Regions from separate parts of the Homo sapiens genome. Here all the other regions are linked to region 4. Evidence: promoter capture Hi-C in 16 types of primary human blood cells and fetal thymus (Javierre and others, 2016). All regions are on one chromosome and are shown on one strand. Each heading gives the region's core, a stretch centred on a gene start or on the middle of the fragment in contact. The rest is flanking DNA. Distances are from core to core; before and after follow the strand shown. Region 1 overlaps DIP2B (disco interacting protein 2 homolog B). Region 2 holds the start of DIP2B (disco interacting protein 2 homolog B). Region 3 holds the start of ATF1 (activating transcription factor 1). Region 4 holds the start of BIN2 (bridging integrator 2).

Region 1 (3,788 bases), core at 200-2,699, 800 kb before region 4:
TATACAGTTGTTCCTTTCTTCGTAGGGGATTGGTTCCGGGACTCCCCTCAGTTACCAAAATCCAAGGGTGCTCAAGTCTGCTAAAAAATGGCATGGTATTTGCATGTAACGTAAGCACATCCTCTTGTTTAAATCAACTCTAGATTACTTATATACTTGTATAGTACCTAATACAGTGAAAATACTATGTCAATAGTTGTTATTCTTTATAATTCAGAGAGTGATGACAGGAAAAAAAAAATCTGTACATGTTCAGTACAGATGGCTTTTTTTCCTCCACCTATTTTCACTTAGAGGTTTGTTTAATCCATGGATGTGGAACCCAAAGATATGGACGGGCCAACTGTACTGTGTTCCTGAATGAGAAGACTGATATATATAAATTTAATGGGAGTCCAATTAGAACTCCAATGGAAGATTCTTTAGGGAATGGAGAATTAGATAAAATGATCTTAGTGTTCACATGGAAGAATAAATAGAATAGCCAAGAAAATTTAGAAACGGAATAGTGAGGTGATACTTGGCCTTACCACATATTAAAACAGATTCTAAAGTTACTGTATTCAAAGCAGTATGGTATTAGCTTTAAAACAGGATGAATGGACAGAATACTATGCCCAAATTCTTATATATATAGGAAAACAATTACGTGTGAAAACATACAAGTTGTATTAGCTTAGTTCAGTTGTCTTCCCAATTTCCTCAAATTATAAAATATTTTAAAATAAATTTACTAGGACTCCATAGGACATCAGAATAGAGAACTTGTTGATATTCTGTTTATCCTGTCAGGAGGAGTACACTGGAGCTAGAAAGAAAAGCCTCTTCCTGCAATGTCTTTCCAGTGCCCTCTATGGACAGGCAAAGTTTAACATCATGGCAGCTGTCAAAGGAAAAATATTTAAAGGGCCCATCTCAGTTTTCACAGAGCAGCGAGGGTATATTTGGAGCTGAAAGGCCATAAATTGATAACACATCCTTGATTCCTCTCCTTCAGGCCACCTCTCTGTATCAAGTCCATCAGTGAGCCTTTTTGGTACTACCTTGAGAATATATTCTAAATCTACTTCTTTCCATGCCGAGTCACTGTTAATCATGCCCATGTCATCACATCTCTTGCTTCTTTAGCTCCTTACCTGGTGGTGTCCCAGCTTTCTTCTCTCTAACCCATTTTCCACATAGCAGGTAGAGAGCTTTTTAAACTGCAAATTAGGTCATATTACTTCCCCGCTTTATAGCTCTTCCATGAATTCAGTTTGTCTTTAAAATATAATTCAGATACGTTTCCATGGCCTGCAAGACCTACACCGCCCTGACCCCTCATCTTTTCCCCTCACCCATTGTGCTTCAGCCACATTGGCTGACTCTTCTTTCTCTTTTCCTTCCTCCCTTCTCTCCTTCCCTATTCTTCCCTCTCCTCTCCACCTGTCTCCCTGCCTCCCTCCATCCTCCCGCTTCCCTCTTCCTTTTTTTAATTTATCTGGTGTTTATTGAGTGCCTACTATGTGCCACATAGGTGCAGGTGATACAGCAGTGATTAACATGACAAACACCCCTCCCCTTAGGGGGCTTACATCTGTAGCTGTAGACAGAGAATAACAAGTAATATGTATTGCTTGTTAGATGGTAAAAATTTATTGTTATTTTTTTTGAGACAGGTTGGAGTGTAGTGGTGTGATCATGGCTCAACTGCAGCTTCCTCTTCCTGGGCTCAAGAGATCCTCCCCCTCAGCCTGCTGAGTAGCTAGGACTCCAGGCCTGTGCCACCATGCCCGCCTAATTTTTATTTTTTGTAGATACAGGGTCTTGCCATGTTTCCCAGGCTAGTCTCAAATTCTTGGGCTCGAGCAATCCTCTTGCCTTGGTGCCCTGCAGAGTGTTGGGATTACAGGTGTGAGCCTCTGTGCCTGGCCATTTGGTAAAAATTTCAATGGAGAAAAAGCATCAAGAGGGACAGAGAAGGCTGGGCACGGTGGCTCACACCTGTAATCCCAGCACTTTGGGAGGCCGAGGCGGGCAGATCACGAGGTCAGGAGATTGAGACCATCCTGGCTAACATGGTGAAACCCCATCTCTACTAAAAATACAAAAAAATTAGCTGGGTGTGGTGTTGGGCGCCTGTAGTCCCAGCTACTTGGAAGGCTGAGGCAGGAGAATGGCGTGAACCCGGGAGGCGGAGCTTGCAGTGAGCCGAAAGCGGGCCACTGCACTCCAGCCTGGGCGACAGAGCGAGACTCCATCTCAAAAAAAAAAAAAAAAAATACAGAGAATACCGGTAGAGGGTTATTGGGCACAATTTAAAAGAGGGTGGTCATCATGAGATGATACTTTGAACAAAATAGGCATTTCTTTTCTTCCTTGAACTCAACCGTGATGCATGTTGCTGCCTCTAGGTCCCCTTTTTTTTTTTTTTTTTGAGACAGAGTCTCACTCTCTCATCCAGGCTGGAGTGCAGTGGTGTACATGGAGCTCACTGCAGCCTTGACCTCCCAGGCTCAAGAGATCCTCCCACCTCAGCCTCCCTAGTAGCTGAGACTATAGGTTTGCACTATCACACCTTGCTAATTTTTTTATATTTTGTAGCTACAGGATCTCACTCTGTTGCCCAGACTTGTCTTGAACTCCTGGGCTCAAGCCATCCTCCCACCTTGGCCTCCCAAAGTGCCGGGGTTGCAGGTGTGAACCACCATGCCTGGCCACCTCTATGTCTTGTTCCTTGCTTTTCTTCTTCCTAGAATGTTCTGCTCCAACTTAGTCTCAGTTCAAAGTTAACCTCCTTAGAGAACCTCCAAGGTTAAATTAGCAACCCCTCCCATCATTCTTCATCTCACCACTCTCTTTTACTTTCTTTTTTTCCTGTTTAAAATTTTCTAATTAATACCAACATTTGAAATGATCTTGTTCATATATTAATATGATTGGATTCTTCCTCAGTAAAATGTTTGTTTTTTGAGTGCAGAGATTTTACTGTCTTGTTCCCTGCTGTCTCTCTAGTGCCTAGAATAGAAGACTCAATAGACACTTGTTCAGTGAACAAATGGACTTTGCAGGGAGAAGATTCCAATGGAATTCTTTAGATGGTGGCAGCTTTAAAGAGTAAAGAAGTGTAGGCTCTGTCCCCAGGGTCTCTGCCAGGAAGGATGGGGACCCCTGTGGAAGCTGGTGAGAGCTGCCCCTCAGGGGCCTATGTGTTTCCTGGCATTTGGTTTTTAATGTTTGCTTGTTTGTTTTTCCCTTATTTTCCTCACTATATACCCTCTGATTTTTACACTTGACTTTTACAGTTGGGTGATATGTGACAACTTTCCGTTTCTTCAGTCTGCCTGACTACTTTGCTTATCCAATTCATTTGGTATTTATTATGCAAATACTTTCAGAATACACAGCTCCAAGCCTGGGACAGTGCTTGGGTGAGAGCTGGAGCCACGCCACTGTGCTCCCTGAACAGGAGGCAGACACTTCTCATTTTTTTGTGTACTTTGCACATGCATTGATTCTCTTTTTCCTCTGCCTTTTTTTTTTTTTTTTTTTTTTTTTTTGAGACAGAGTTTCACTCTTGTTGCCCAGGCTGGAGTGCAATGGCGCGATCTCGGCTCACTGCAACCTCTGCCTCCCGGGTTCAAGCGATTTCCTGCCTCAGCCTCACCAGTAGCTGAGATTACAGGCCTGTGCCACCACGCTTGGCTACTTTTTGTATTTTTAGTAGAGACAGGGTTTCACCATGTTGGCCAGGTTGGTCCCAAACTCCTGGCCTCAGGTAATACGACTACCCCGGTCCCCCAAAGTGC
Region 2 (4,098 bases), core at 1,527-4,026, 820 kb before region 4:
TGTAATCCCAGAAGTTTGGGAGGCTGAGGCCAGTGGATCACTTGAGGTCAGGAGTTCGAGACCAGCCTGGCCAACATGGTGAAACCACATTTCTACTAAAAATACTAAAAATACAAAAATTAGCCGGGCATGGTGGCCGGTGCCTGTAATCACAGCTACTTGGGAGGCTGAGGCAGGAAAACCGCTTGAACCCGGGAGGCAGAGGTTGTAGTAAGCTGAAATTGCGCCACTGCACTCTAGCCTGGGTGACAGAGCGAGACTCTGTCTAAAAAAAAAAAAAACGGTGACACAGTATAAACATAGTATATTTTTGTTTGTTAATTTTTAAAAGTTTTTCTCCAAAAGCATGAGCCACCACACCTGGCCTCGGAGAAAAATTTAATGTTAAACTTTTAAAATAGTCACAGAAAGAATAGCAGTATAATCTGTACCTTCCAAACCAGAAGAACAAAGAAGTACTATCTAACACTTTACTAATTCAACAATAGGAGAAAAAGGGGGGGAAGAAAGCAAAGACAGAGATTGATAAACAGAAAACATTTAACAAGAATGAAGAAATAAGTCCTAATATATCAGTAATTATATTAAATGAACTTAAATGGATTTAATTAATTTGTTACAACCAGAGTCACAGACAAAAGTTGAAAATAAAAGACTAAAAAAAGTCAGCAAGTAGTAATTAAAAAGGCTGGTACAACAATAATATCTAGACAAAAAGATTAAGGTAAAGAATAAACAATTAGAAATAAAGAGAATATAAGGAATAATCTAGCAAAAAGGTAGAATAATTTGGTGGAAGAATGCAGTAAAGGCTGGATGAGGTGGCTTATGCCTGTAATCCCAGCACTTTGAGAGGCTGAGGTAGGAGGATCTCTCAAGTTTGTTCTAAGCTTCTATAATTTTAAATAAATGTTTTACTTTAGAATGGTTTTAAATTTACTGAAAAGTTGCAAAGATAGTACAGATAATTCCTGTGTATGCTTCATCCAGTTTTTCCTTTTTTTTTTTTTTTTTTTTTGAGACGGAGTTTCGCTCTTGTTGCCCAGGCTGGAATGCAGTGGTGCAATCTGGGCTTACCGCAACCTCCACTTCCCGGGTTCAAGCGATTCTCCTGTCTCAGCCTCCCGAGTAGCTGGGATTACAGGCACATGCCACCATGCCCAGCTAATTTTTGTATTTTTAGTAGACGCGGGGTTTCACCATACTGGTCAGGCTGATCTCCAACTCCTGACCTCAGGTGATCTGCCTGCCTCGGCCTCCCAAAGTGCTGGGATTACAGATGTGAGCGACCACGCCCGGCCTTGACTTTTTTTTTTTTTTTTGAAACAGTTTCACTGCGTTGCCCAGGCTGGAGCGCAGCCGCCATGTTCTCAGCTCACTGTAACCTTGGCCTCCCGGGTTCAAGCGACGTTCCTACCTCAGCTCCCCCAGGTAGCTGGGATTACAGGCATGTGCCACTACTCCCGGCTAATTTTTGTGTTTTTAGTAGAGACGGGGTTTCGCCATGTTGGCCAGGCTGGTCTCGAACTCTTGACCTCAGGTGATCCGCCCACCTTGGCCTCCCAAAGTGCTGGGATCATAGGTGTGAGCCACTGCACCTAGCCTTGGACCCTCTTCATATTAAATTAAAATTAATGTTTTTGGAACACCTATTAGGCCACAGAGTGAGGAGGATGAGTTAAAGTAAGTTCCCTCCTTGTAAGTAGTTAGAAGTATAGAAAGAAAGAAGTGGACCTGCTCTCTATTGTCTTTTTCTTTTCTTTAGACGGAGTGTTTGCTCTCTTGCCCGGGCTGGAGTGCAATGACGCGATCTCAGCTTACTGTAACCTCTGCCTCCTGGGTTCAAGTGATTCTCCTGCCTCAGCCTCTTGAGTAGCTAGGAGTACAGGCATCCGCCACCACGCCCGGCTAATTTTTGTATTTTTATTGGAGACGGGGTTTCACCATGTTGGCCAGGCTGGCCTAGTACTCTTTTTTTTTTTTTTTTGAGTCGGAGTCTCGCGCTCACGCTCAGGCTGGAGTGCAGTGGCGTGATCTTGGCTCACTGCAAGCTCCGCCTCCCGGGTTCACGCCATTCTCCTGCCTCAGCCTCCCGAGTAGCTGGGACTACAGGCGCCCGCCACCACGCCCGGCTAATTTTTTGTACTTTTAGTAGAGACGGGGTTTCACCGTGTCAGCCAGGATGGTCTCGATCTCCTGACTTCGTGATCCACCCGTCTCGGCCTCCCAAAGTGCTGGGATTACAGGCGTGAGCCACCGCGCCCGGTCGGCTAGCCTGGTACTCTTAACCTCAGGTGATCCACCAGCCTCAGCCTCCCAAAGTGCTAGGATTACAGGCGAGAGCCACCGCGCCTGTCTTTTTAAAAGCTAAAACTGAAACGGAAACAGAGCTCCTGGCAGATAGGACCAGGAGCCACAGCGAAGGAGGTGGCCTGTGATTAGGTTTTTATAAATGGGCAGGTATTAATCAGGGAAAATGGAGTAAAGGACACGATAGACATACATTGCTAAGTCTAGTATTGGAAAAAGTAAGGCCTGGGACCCCTAAAAACTTGCTCGAGAGTGAAAGGTAAATGCTATGTGTCCACACTACTGTGGTAAAGCCGACAGTCCATACCATGAGCCCATTTCGCGCAGGGAAATTCGAGTGGTGGGCTTGGGCCCGTCGTTCTGGTAGCTTCCCAGTAGAGGGCGCCGTAAGCATATGCGTCTTCAGCCTGACTGGGCTGGAGAGGCGGTGCGTCCTCCTGGCCGGGGGGCGGGGGCCGTCGCGCTCACGTGACCTTTGCTCATGGCGGCGGCGGCGGCGGCGGCGGTGCTGGTGGTGCTCGGCGGCCGGAGCCGGATCCTGTAGCCGGGTGTGGGCCCGTGTCTGTCCGTCCCTCCTTCGGCCCCCTCTCTTGTCTTCCGGAGTGTGGCTGGCGGAGCTGGGATGGCGGAACGAGGCCTGGAGCCGTCGCCGGCCGCGGTGGCGGCGCTGCCGCCTGAAGTGCGGGCGCAGCTGGCGGAGCTGGAGCTGGAGCTCTCGGAGGGTAGGAGCCGGGCCGGGGAGAGGGCGCCCGGGGCCCTGCGGATCGCGGCGACTTGGGAGACAGGTCCCCGCCGCGCGCTCTGGCGGCCGTGCGGCGAGGGGGACGAGGGTGTAGAGAACCTGGCCTGGCGCTCCACGACCGTTTTCCCTCCTCTCCCACCCCATTAAGTGGTTTCCTGTGGCTTTCATTGTTTTCCCATGGAGGGGACTAAGTAAGGGCTTGTGGAAAGGTCCTCCCGGGCCCACACTGCTTCTGCGCTTCCTGCCCCCCAAAACCCGAGACAAAGCTGCGCCCTCCCGCTTCTGCCCAGGCGTCTGGCCCAGGTGGGGTGAGGGGTAGGGCTGCGAGGAGGGTGGCTGACAGCTTTCTCCTTTCCTCTCCCCTTTTCGTGGAGGGCTCCACGCCTTGTTCCAGCCCCCCCTTCCCCCTTTCAAAAAGAGACACATGGGAAATCCGCAGCATCATTTCTTCTCTTTCCTTTAACAATGCGCGATGCCTCCCCAGTGACAGGAGTGAGACACAAGCGGGTGAGCCATTTAGGGTCCTAGGAAGATAAGAAGCAATGGCATTAACCCAGAGAGACACACGGTGCTGCTTTTAGACCACCTTTGTCATAAGAAGTTTTTTTTTTTCCTGGTGCCTGTTATTCGGGCCGAATTTTCCGCATCTGGTCACCTTTTGGAGTCTTTGATGAAGGAAGGAGAGGAGGCTACCGTTTACTTGCAAATCCTGGCTGGCATTCTTTCTTTTGACAATGGATTGGGACAGGGAGGGTTCGATTTATTTTCAGAATTAAAAAAAAAAAATGGGATAAATCAAGCCACTGTTATTAGAGAACTCCTTGTACAACAATGAGAGAAACACAGTGCTCCGTTGTGGGCATGTGATCAGGCTTCTGGGGCAGTTGTGATCAGTTCTGTGTAAAGTTCCTGTTTTTATCACTGGCTGCCCCTGAGACAAAAGCAGCATTTTCTCCAAGCTTGATACCAGTACTTTGATTGTGTCTCCAGAGTTGCATATTCTTACTGAGTTCCTTGTGGAAGGCCCTCTTCACTAGCATTTTTCA
Region 3 (3,690 bases), core at 419-2,918, 560 kb before region 4:
CATCGAAGGCTGGTATCTGAGAAACTCTTCCTCTCCCTTACCTTTATAGGCCACTTTTCTTTCAGTAATGCTGAAACACTGACTTAATAACAGTTGTCCCCTGGTCTAGCATTTAATAGGTAATCCACAATTTTTGCTGAATGTCAATAGCTAAACGTTAGTGACCTCTTAAGACTGTCTGGCAGAGTAAATCTTCGGCTTTATATCACATTCTCCGACCCAAAGGGCCAAAAATAGGCAAAGCTCTCTCCACTAAATCGGTTTCCTAAATTGGGGATCTCAAACTAGTAAAATTTCAGAAAACTTTCGGAACTTTTGTCAAGAGCATACTAAAAAAGTTTATCTTTTGTCGTTTACTATCATTAAAGCCATAAAACAGCATTTTACAAGGAAATTTTAAAAATTAAGAATAAGGCATAACTCCCTTCCAGAGAGGTAGACCCAAAAATATTCTGAAGTTTTTGTAATGCATTAAAATGACGGCATAACATTTTATTAACACTCTGTTACGTTTCTTTTTTCTTTTTTTTTGAGACAGTTTTGCTCTTGTTGCCCAGGCTGGAGTGCAACGGTGCGATCTCGGCTCACCGCAACCTCCGCCTCCCGGGTTCAAGCGATTCTCCTGCCTCAGCCTCCCAAGTAGCTTGGATTACAGGCATTCGCCACCACACCCGGCTACTTTTGTATTTTTTAGTAGAGACGGGGTTTCTCCATGTTGGTCAGGCTGGTTTCGAACTCCCGATCTCAGGTGATCCGCCCTCCTGGGCCTCCCAAAGTGCTGGGATTACAGGCATGAGCCACCGCGCCCGGCCACATCGTTATGTCTCATTGTAAATCCGTTTCTGTAGAAAATCCTTCCACATGGGTTAAAGGACACAACTCATTGTTACTTTATGGGATTAAGAAAAATCTGAGTAAGGCCGGGCACGGTGGCTCACGCCTGTAATCCCAGAACTTTGAGAGGCCGAGGCGGAGGATCACTTGAGCCCAGGAGTTCAAGACCAGCCTGAGCAACATAGAGTCCTCATCTCTTCAAGCCGAGCGTGGTAGCGCGCGCCTGTGGTCCCAGCTGCCCCATAGGCTGAGGTTGGAGAATCGCTTGAATCCCGGGGTTGGAGGCTGCAGTGAGTCGAGATCGAACCACTGCACTACAGCCTGGGCCACAGACCCCCGTCTCAATCTCGGAAAAAAAAAAGAGACTCCATCTAAAAAAAAAAAAAAAAAAAAAAAGCTGAGGAAGTCAAAGCCTTCACTCTTCATTTCTCCTTCCAAGAGGACAGGGCCGGCGTCGGTCAAGGTCAATTGGCAGGTGAGTTGACAGCGCCGCCACTAATCGATGAAAACGCCCCCCGCGAGCACCCAGCTGCTCATGGCCTCCGGAAGCGGACGTAGGGCGGGTGGGGTACAGCTCCTAAGGAGAAACGGAACCGCAGGCACCGTCCCTCTCCCGCTGCAGCCTGAGGAACGCGTTCCGAGGAACCCCTAGCCACAAGTCAGGACCGCGTACAAGATGGCGGCGCGTCACGTGGGCAGCGCGGTGACGCAGGACGGCGGCCCGCGCGGAGGCAGCGCCATAGCCTACCCCAAACGCACACTAGTGCTCAGTTTTGCCCCCCTCCCCTCCCCCGCCCCCGCCCCCGCCCCCAGGCTTGTGTAGATCATGCCGCCAGTAGCGGCCCTGACTGCCGAGGAAACGGTAGCTTAGGACAGTTGGCTGTTAAGTGACACTGATTCTCCCCGCCCCGCCTGACCCCCGAGAAGGAGGCTTGTCCCCCGCTGCGTGAGGGGGTGGGGAAGTGGGTAGTGAATTCGGATCTACCTGGGAGGGGGGAGTGGAAGTTCCCGCCCCGGAGAGCGGCGAGGCGGCAGCCACAGGTAAGTGGGGGGCGGGGAGGGACGTGCCCCGTGGCCCGGGCGGGGAAGGACGCGGGAACGTGGCGCCGGCGGGGACGCAGCGCGGGTCGCGCGCCTGGTGGGGGTCGCGCGCGGTGGTGGCGGTGGGGGAGGGGCGCAGCGGCAGGGGGAGGGGCCGCCCGCGCTTCCGGCCTCCGCGCCTCGGTGCAGAGCTGCGCTGCGCCCTTCCAGTCGTGCGTCTCCTCCTTTCCCTCGCCCCCAAATAAAAGTAAAGCCCGAAACCGCCCGCCGCGGGGTGGCTTTCGCCTCAGAAGCCGCCCTTTGCAGTCGCAGGCGCTAGCTCTCCGTGGGAGGTCTCGAGGTTGGGCCCGGAGCCGGGCGGAGGGCGGCGCGGATATGGCCTCGGCGCGGTGTCCGCCGAGCGGAGCCCGGGTCTGGTTAACCCCGCGACAGGGTCCTCGAAGCGCGTCGGCGCTGGCGACCCTGAGGGAAGAGGCGCGCCCCTTACCCTCCTGGAGCTTGCAGTCTAGCGGGCAACCGACGCACGGGCATTGCGCACGCCCCAGACAGTCCTGGAGAGATGCGCCTGGCAGCGGAGACAGAGTGGGGACAGTAGGCGGCTTTACCCCTGGCTAGGAATGACACAAGGGCGTCTGTACCCTTTGGGATGGGCGACCCAGCCGAGGGTGACTTTCTCTTTGATCTTGTATGTCAAAAAACGAAGCCTGGCATTTCTCACTTTGATCGACGCCGTGCAGCTGGCGGCTGAATCGCTTTGAAATGATTGCAATGTGAAATAATGTCTGGTTGTGGCGCTAGTGTTTTGAAGAGATTGGGCAACTGGTAGTCTTTGAGAACCTTTAGGGTTCAGAAGCTCGGCGTGGATCTGGCAGGCATCTTTGTCAAACTGGCCTCACCTGTGATGAGTTCGTAGGCATTTATGTCTCAGAATGCATTTTAACCTGAGGTTTTTGTTAACAGAAATGCGTTCTTCTAAAATGCTCTTTTTTCTTGGAGTTTATCATATGCAGTTATCTCCGTGTCTTAATTAGAATCAATACTGTTGCCCTAAAGTCGAATGTATTAGCTCTTTAATACTTGCCGTTATCTTTTAGGGTTAGGTTTGGTCTGTGAGCTATCTGTCCATTCCTACCCGATCACCAGCAGGTGGCAGTCCCTTCTGACTTTAAATATAGGGTGTGCTATCTTTGCCAGTTTTTGTTTTGTTTTGTTTGTTTGTTTGTTTGTTTTTAAATAGAGATGGTGTCAGAGGCGTGTGAACTAGAACAACTCCATCTTAAACAGGAGCTGGGTAAAATGAGGCTGAAACCTACTGGGCTGCATTCCCAGACAGTTAAGGCATTCTAAGTCACAGGATGAGACAAGTCAGCACAAAATACAGGTCATGAAGACCTTGCTGATAAAACAGGTTGCAGTAAAGAAGCCGGCCAAAACTGAAATGGCCACAAGAGTGACCCCTGGTCATCCTCACTGCTACACTCCCATCAGCGCCATTTACAAATCCCATGGCAATGTCAGGAAGTTACCCTATATGGTCTAAAAAGGGGAGGCGTGATTAATCCACCCCTTGTTTAGCCTATCATTGAGAAATAACAGTAAAAAGGGGTAACCAGCAGCCCTTGGGGCTGCTCTGTCTATGGAGTAGCCGTTCTTTTTATTCCTTTACTTTCTTCATAATGTTACTTTTACATCGCACTGTGGACTTGCCCTGAATTATTTCTTGCGCGAGATCCAAGAACCCTCAGTTGGGGCCTGGATCAGGACGCCTGTCCTGTAACATATTTCTGGCGACCACAAAGGGACTATAGTGCAGAA
Region 4 (3,876 bases), core at 51-2,550:
TCAGGAGCTACATCTACATTCCATCAGTTTTCTGCTGATAAATCAACTCGGGAGAGCTGGTTGCCTTTAAGCCTTCCCAGGGCTCAAAGCAGTGCTCCACTTTTAGAAGATAATAGGGATATTTCAGTTGGTAAGCAGAGCTGTTCATCCAAATGCTTCTAAGTCCATCAGCTCTTAGAAAACCAAAACTTCTCCGTTGTAGAAGGCAGGTTGGGCTTAATAAAGAGAGAGAGAAAAAAAGGAAAACCGAAACTCTATCTCAGGTCCTTCTTGTCTTTCTTCCCTCGCTCTTTCTTCTGGCTGACATGTCTTCCCAAACCGCCTTGTCTACTAGAGGGTTGGTAGGTGGAGAGCAGAGGCTCAGGTTAGAAGCAAAGAAAATATTCTGTACAGGTAGAAACAAAAATGCCATCAAAATGTGTAGAGAATGTCCCCACAATTTAGATTGCCAAGCAAGTAATAGATGGGCAGCCCACCTAAGTGCCAGTGCTGGAGCAGGGCTACCTGACACTAACCAAGGACACACTCTGAACACAGATGTGGTTCATCACCCTGGGAGGTGTACTCCCCAACGCCAAAGGGAGGGTAGAAGAAGCAGATTTGGGCTCCTGCTTACGTCAGCTGAAACACCACCCAGAGGCCAGGCAGGGTCAGGTAGGGGGAGAACTATGCAGGATTATTCTAAGCCTTTGGTGGGGGGTGCCTGCTGGCATCCGCTGCATCGCTGTTTTTGGGGAAATTGCCCTCTATGGAAAATTACCCTCCAATTTCATCATCTGTAAAATACCAATTTTGGATTGCTAGCACAAAATTTGATACAAAGGTGGCCACCACCATCACTTCCTTTCTTTCACCTTTTCTGGGTCAGCCTGAGGGTTGTCGAAGGTTCTGCCCAGAGACTGTTGTCTCCCCAGCTTCCCTTATCCTTGCCCAAGATCGGGTGGCGGTCTCCGACCTCTCTCCAATCTGCCAGTTTTCATGGAAGCCCACTCCTCGCTCCCGTTTCCCTGGGAGAGCGGGAGACCCTTCTCGTCAGCCCAGACCCTTCGGGGCCCCTGAGCACCCTGCCCGCCCCTCCTGCCCGGCCGGGCTCGGCCTCGGCCTCGGCTCCCTGTGGGCCAGACAGACAGCGAGGCCCGGCCACCTACCTTCTCCTGGGCCCTGCTAAACTTCTTCTGCACCTGCTTGGCGAAGAGGCCGGCCGCGCCGCCTGCCTTGCCCTCTGCCATCCTGCCAACTCCCTGGGGGCCGCCGCCCTGGCCCCGCGCCCTGTGGTTTTCTGAGGCCCCCGAGGAGGAAGTGCGGGCTCCCGGCATGCCTCGCATCCGGCCCCAGCCCTGAGCCACCTCAGGCCGCCCCTGGCCAGCCCTGAGGCCCGCCCCTCAGCCCACCACTGTCAGCTGGAGCAGGCCGGCTCGGAGGGGCGGGCCCGGGGCCTACCCTCAGGCAGCGCTCGCTCGAGGCCAGCTTCCGAGCTCCAACCCCTGCCCGAAACCTCGGCCTCACTGAACCAGGTCCTCAGTGGTGGGCCCACACTCACTCGCTCCGGAAAGCCAGTTCCCATCACGCTGAGCACTGCAAAGCAACTGCCACCGCAGGGTAGAAAATGATGTGGGTTCCACTCAGCGAGAGGACCTACCATATCGAAAACACGTTTAGGTTCTCTGAGTATGCATGCGAAGCCGCCATGTACACTGCGTTTCTTGCTCCAGGTAGGCTCTAAGCCTGGAACTGGTAGGGATAGAGTGCAGAAAGCAGGCAGGACACCCGAGCCGGGCTTGAAAGAGAGAAACAGGCCGGGCGCGGTGGCTCACGCCTGTAATCCTAGCACTTTGGGAGGCCGAGGCGGGTGGATCGCCTGAGGTTAGGAGATCAGCCTGACCAATACGGTGAAACCGCGTCGCTACTAAAAATACAAAAATTAGCTGGGTGTGGTGGCGCACGCCTGCAGTCCCAGCTACTCGAGAGGATGACGCAGGAGAATTGTTTGAACCCGGGAGGCAGAGGTTGCAGTGAGCCGAAATCGCGCCACTGCATTCCAGCCTGGGCGACAGAGCGACAGTTCGTCTCAAATAAATAAATAAATAAATAAATAAATAAATAAATAAATGAGGAACAACTAAGCTGGAGATAGAAACAGGGTAGGGGGCTGGTTCTTAGGCAAGAGAATGATCACATTGAAAAAAGGCTGAGGAGGATAGTATGGACGCCCGTGCTGAGCATGAGGAGCAAGTTTTTCTAGTTGGAGTACAGTGTACTGGATGGAGGCAGAATGTGAACACAGACACAGATTGTGCAAATTGGGGTGCGGCTGTTGAGATGACAACTATTGTTTCTTTAGGGAGAAGTTCTCCAAAAAATTCCTCCCTGACCTGTTTGAGGGGATAGCTTGAGATTAGGACACTAGGTGTGGAGGAACCACGTACTCAGATTTTACAGTGCAGGTTAAAATTTCCTCAAGGCAGGGAAGAAGGTCAAAATAACACTTCCTAAGGAGTGGAGGGGGAAGATAGGGCCTGACACAAAATTAGAGGCCCTTGTATGCTACTGTGTTCCTCTTCTTTCTCCAAAACAATCATTACTGCACTCAAGGTCAACTGTGTACCAGGCATTGCTGGGTGTTCTGAAACAAGGATGAATAAAATGCAGTCCCTGACCTTAAGATGCTTAATGAAGTCTGGCCGGGCACCACGGCTCACACCTGTAATCCCAACACTTTAGGAGGCTGAGGCAGGCAGATTGCTTGAGCCCAGGAGTTTGAGACTAGCCTGCGCAACATAGCAAGACCTTCTCTCTGCTAAAAATACAAAAATTAATTGGGCGTGGTGGCACACACCTGTAGTCCCAGCTATCAGGGAGGCTGAGGTGGGAGGATCACCCGAGCCAAGGGAGGTGGAGGCTGCAGTGAGCCCTGATGGTGCCACTGCATTCCAGCCTGGGCAAAGCGTGAGGCCCTTTCTCAACCAATAAAGAATAAGTATTAATAAATAAGTACATAAATAAAGATGCTTAAAGTCTGGAAGTGGAGATAGGTGGGTAATCAGGTGATTCTAATGTAATGTGCTTAATTTATTTGTAGAGATGGATACAAAATTTTCTGGGAATAGGTGATTAGGGTTTGTTTGTTTGTTTGTTTGTTTGGAGACAGGGTCTTGCTTTGTTGCCAGGCTGGAGTGCAGCAGTGCCATCAGGGCTCACTGCAGCCTCTACCTCCCAGGCCCAAGTGATGGTCTCACCTCAGCCTCCTGAGTAGCTGGGACTAAGGTGCGTGCATGCCACCACTCCTGGCTACCCAGGCTGATCTGGAACTCTTGAGCTCAAGCAATCCACCCGCCTCAGCCTCCCAAAGGGCTGGGATTACAGGTGTGAACCACCTTGCCCTGCCAGGCGATTAGGGTTTATTCTGGATGTTAGCTTTGGTGATGCCCTGGAAGAGGCAGGGTGATGAAAATAGAAGGACTTGATATTGGATGGGGAGAAGTGGGGAGAAGCATGGAGAATAGCAGTACTGCGGGAACACTGAGAGTAGATGGCAATGCTAACAGGTGTGTCACTGGCAGAAGGAGGCCAGTACCTGTGTCCCTGCCAGGACTACATGGCATCCTCAGCAATGCAACCCAGCCACTGTCTCCTAAGAAACTCTGTTTAGTGCCAATATCTTGCAAACTGAAATTGATGGTCACCAAATCATGTAGTGTTAGAGAAGAAACAACCCTTAGAAGTTAATTAGATAGGGAAATTGAGTCACAGAAAGGGCTGATGACTTGACCACAGCCACCCAGCTCCTCAGTGGTGGAACTGGGATGGGAACAGACTCAGCCTCTTATAGCACATGGAGTGTTCTAGAGGCCTCTGCTGAGCCTGTCAATTCCAGGG

Evidence for each region. Contacts are between HindIII fragments. The CHiCAGO score rates a contact against its expected background, and 5 or more counts as called.
Region 1: a contact is called between a fragment that was not itself captured here and the fragment with the promoter of BIN2 in region 4, in 1 of 17 cell types (neutrophils). The highest score is 6.1, in neutrophils.
Region 2: the fragment with the promoter of DIP2B here is called in contact with the fragment with the promoter of BIN2 in region 4 in 1 of 17 cell types (fetal thymus); the score reaches 5.9 in fetal thymus.
Region 3: a contact is called between the fragment with the promoter of ATF1 here and the fragment with the promoter of BIN2 in region 4, in 2 of 17 cell types (fetal thymus and neutrophils). The highest score is 7.7, in fetal thymus.

Annotation. Positions count from the first base shown.
Region 1 is chr12:50,523,115-50,526,902 of GRCh38, forward strand. All of the region lies in intron 1 of DIP2B (disco interacting protein 2 homolog B), which reads left to right. Among named protein-coding and RNA genes, the nearest start is that of DIP2B, 20 kb to the left of the region's middle. The HindIII fragment of the contact is 8,359 bases long and covers 1-3,788 here.
Region 2 is chr12:50,502,209-50,506,306 of GRCh38, forward strand. It overlaps DIP2B (disco interacting protein 2 homolog B), which reads left to right and starts at 2,777. Exons shown (of 38, transcript NM_173602.3): 1 at 2,777-3,032. The coding sequence starts at 2,933. RefSeq lists a silencer at 3,080-3,189. The HindIII fragment of the contact is 3,121 bases long and covers 889-4,009 here.
Region 3 is chr12:50,762,433-50,766,122 of GRCh38, forward strand. It overlaps ATF1 (activating transcription factor 1), which reads left to right and starts at 1,669. Exons shown (of 7, transcript NM_005171.5): 1 at 1,669-1,875. RefSeq lists enhancers at 1-132, 2,433-2,532 and silencers at 1,623-1,702, 1,923-2,012. The HindIII fragment of the contact is 10,692 bases long and covers 1-3,690 here.
Region 4 is chr12:51,322,874-51,326,749 of GRCh38, forward strand. BIN2 (bridging integrator 2) reads right to left here and starts at 1,301. Exons shown (of 13, transcript NM_016293.4): 1 at 1,149-1,301. The coding sequence starts at 1,229. LOC105369767 (a long non-coding RNA gene) reads right to left here and starts at 1,135. Exons shown (of 2, transcript XR_944957.3): 1 at 855-1,135; 2 at 1-330. RefSeq lists an enhancer at 827-1,016 and a silencer at 1,047-1,536. The HindIII fragment of the contact is 11,893 bases long and covers 1-3,876 here.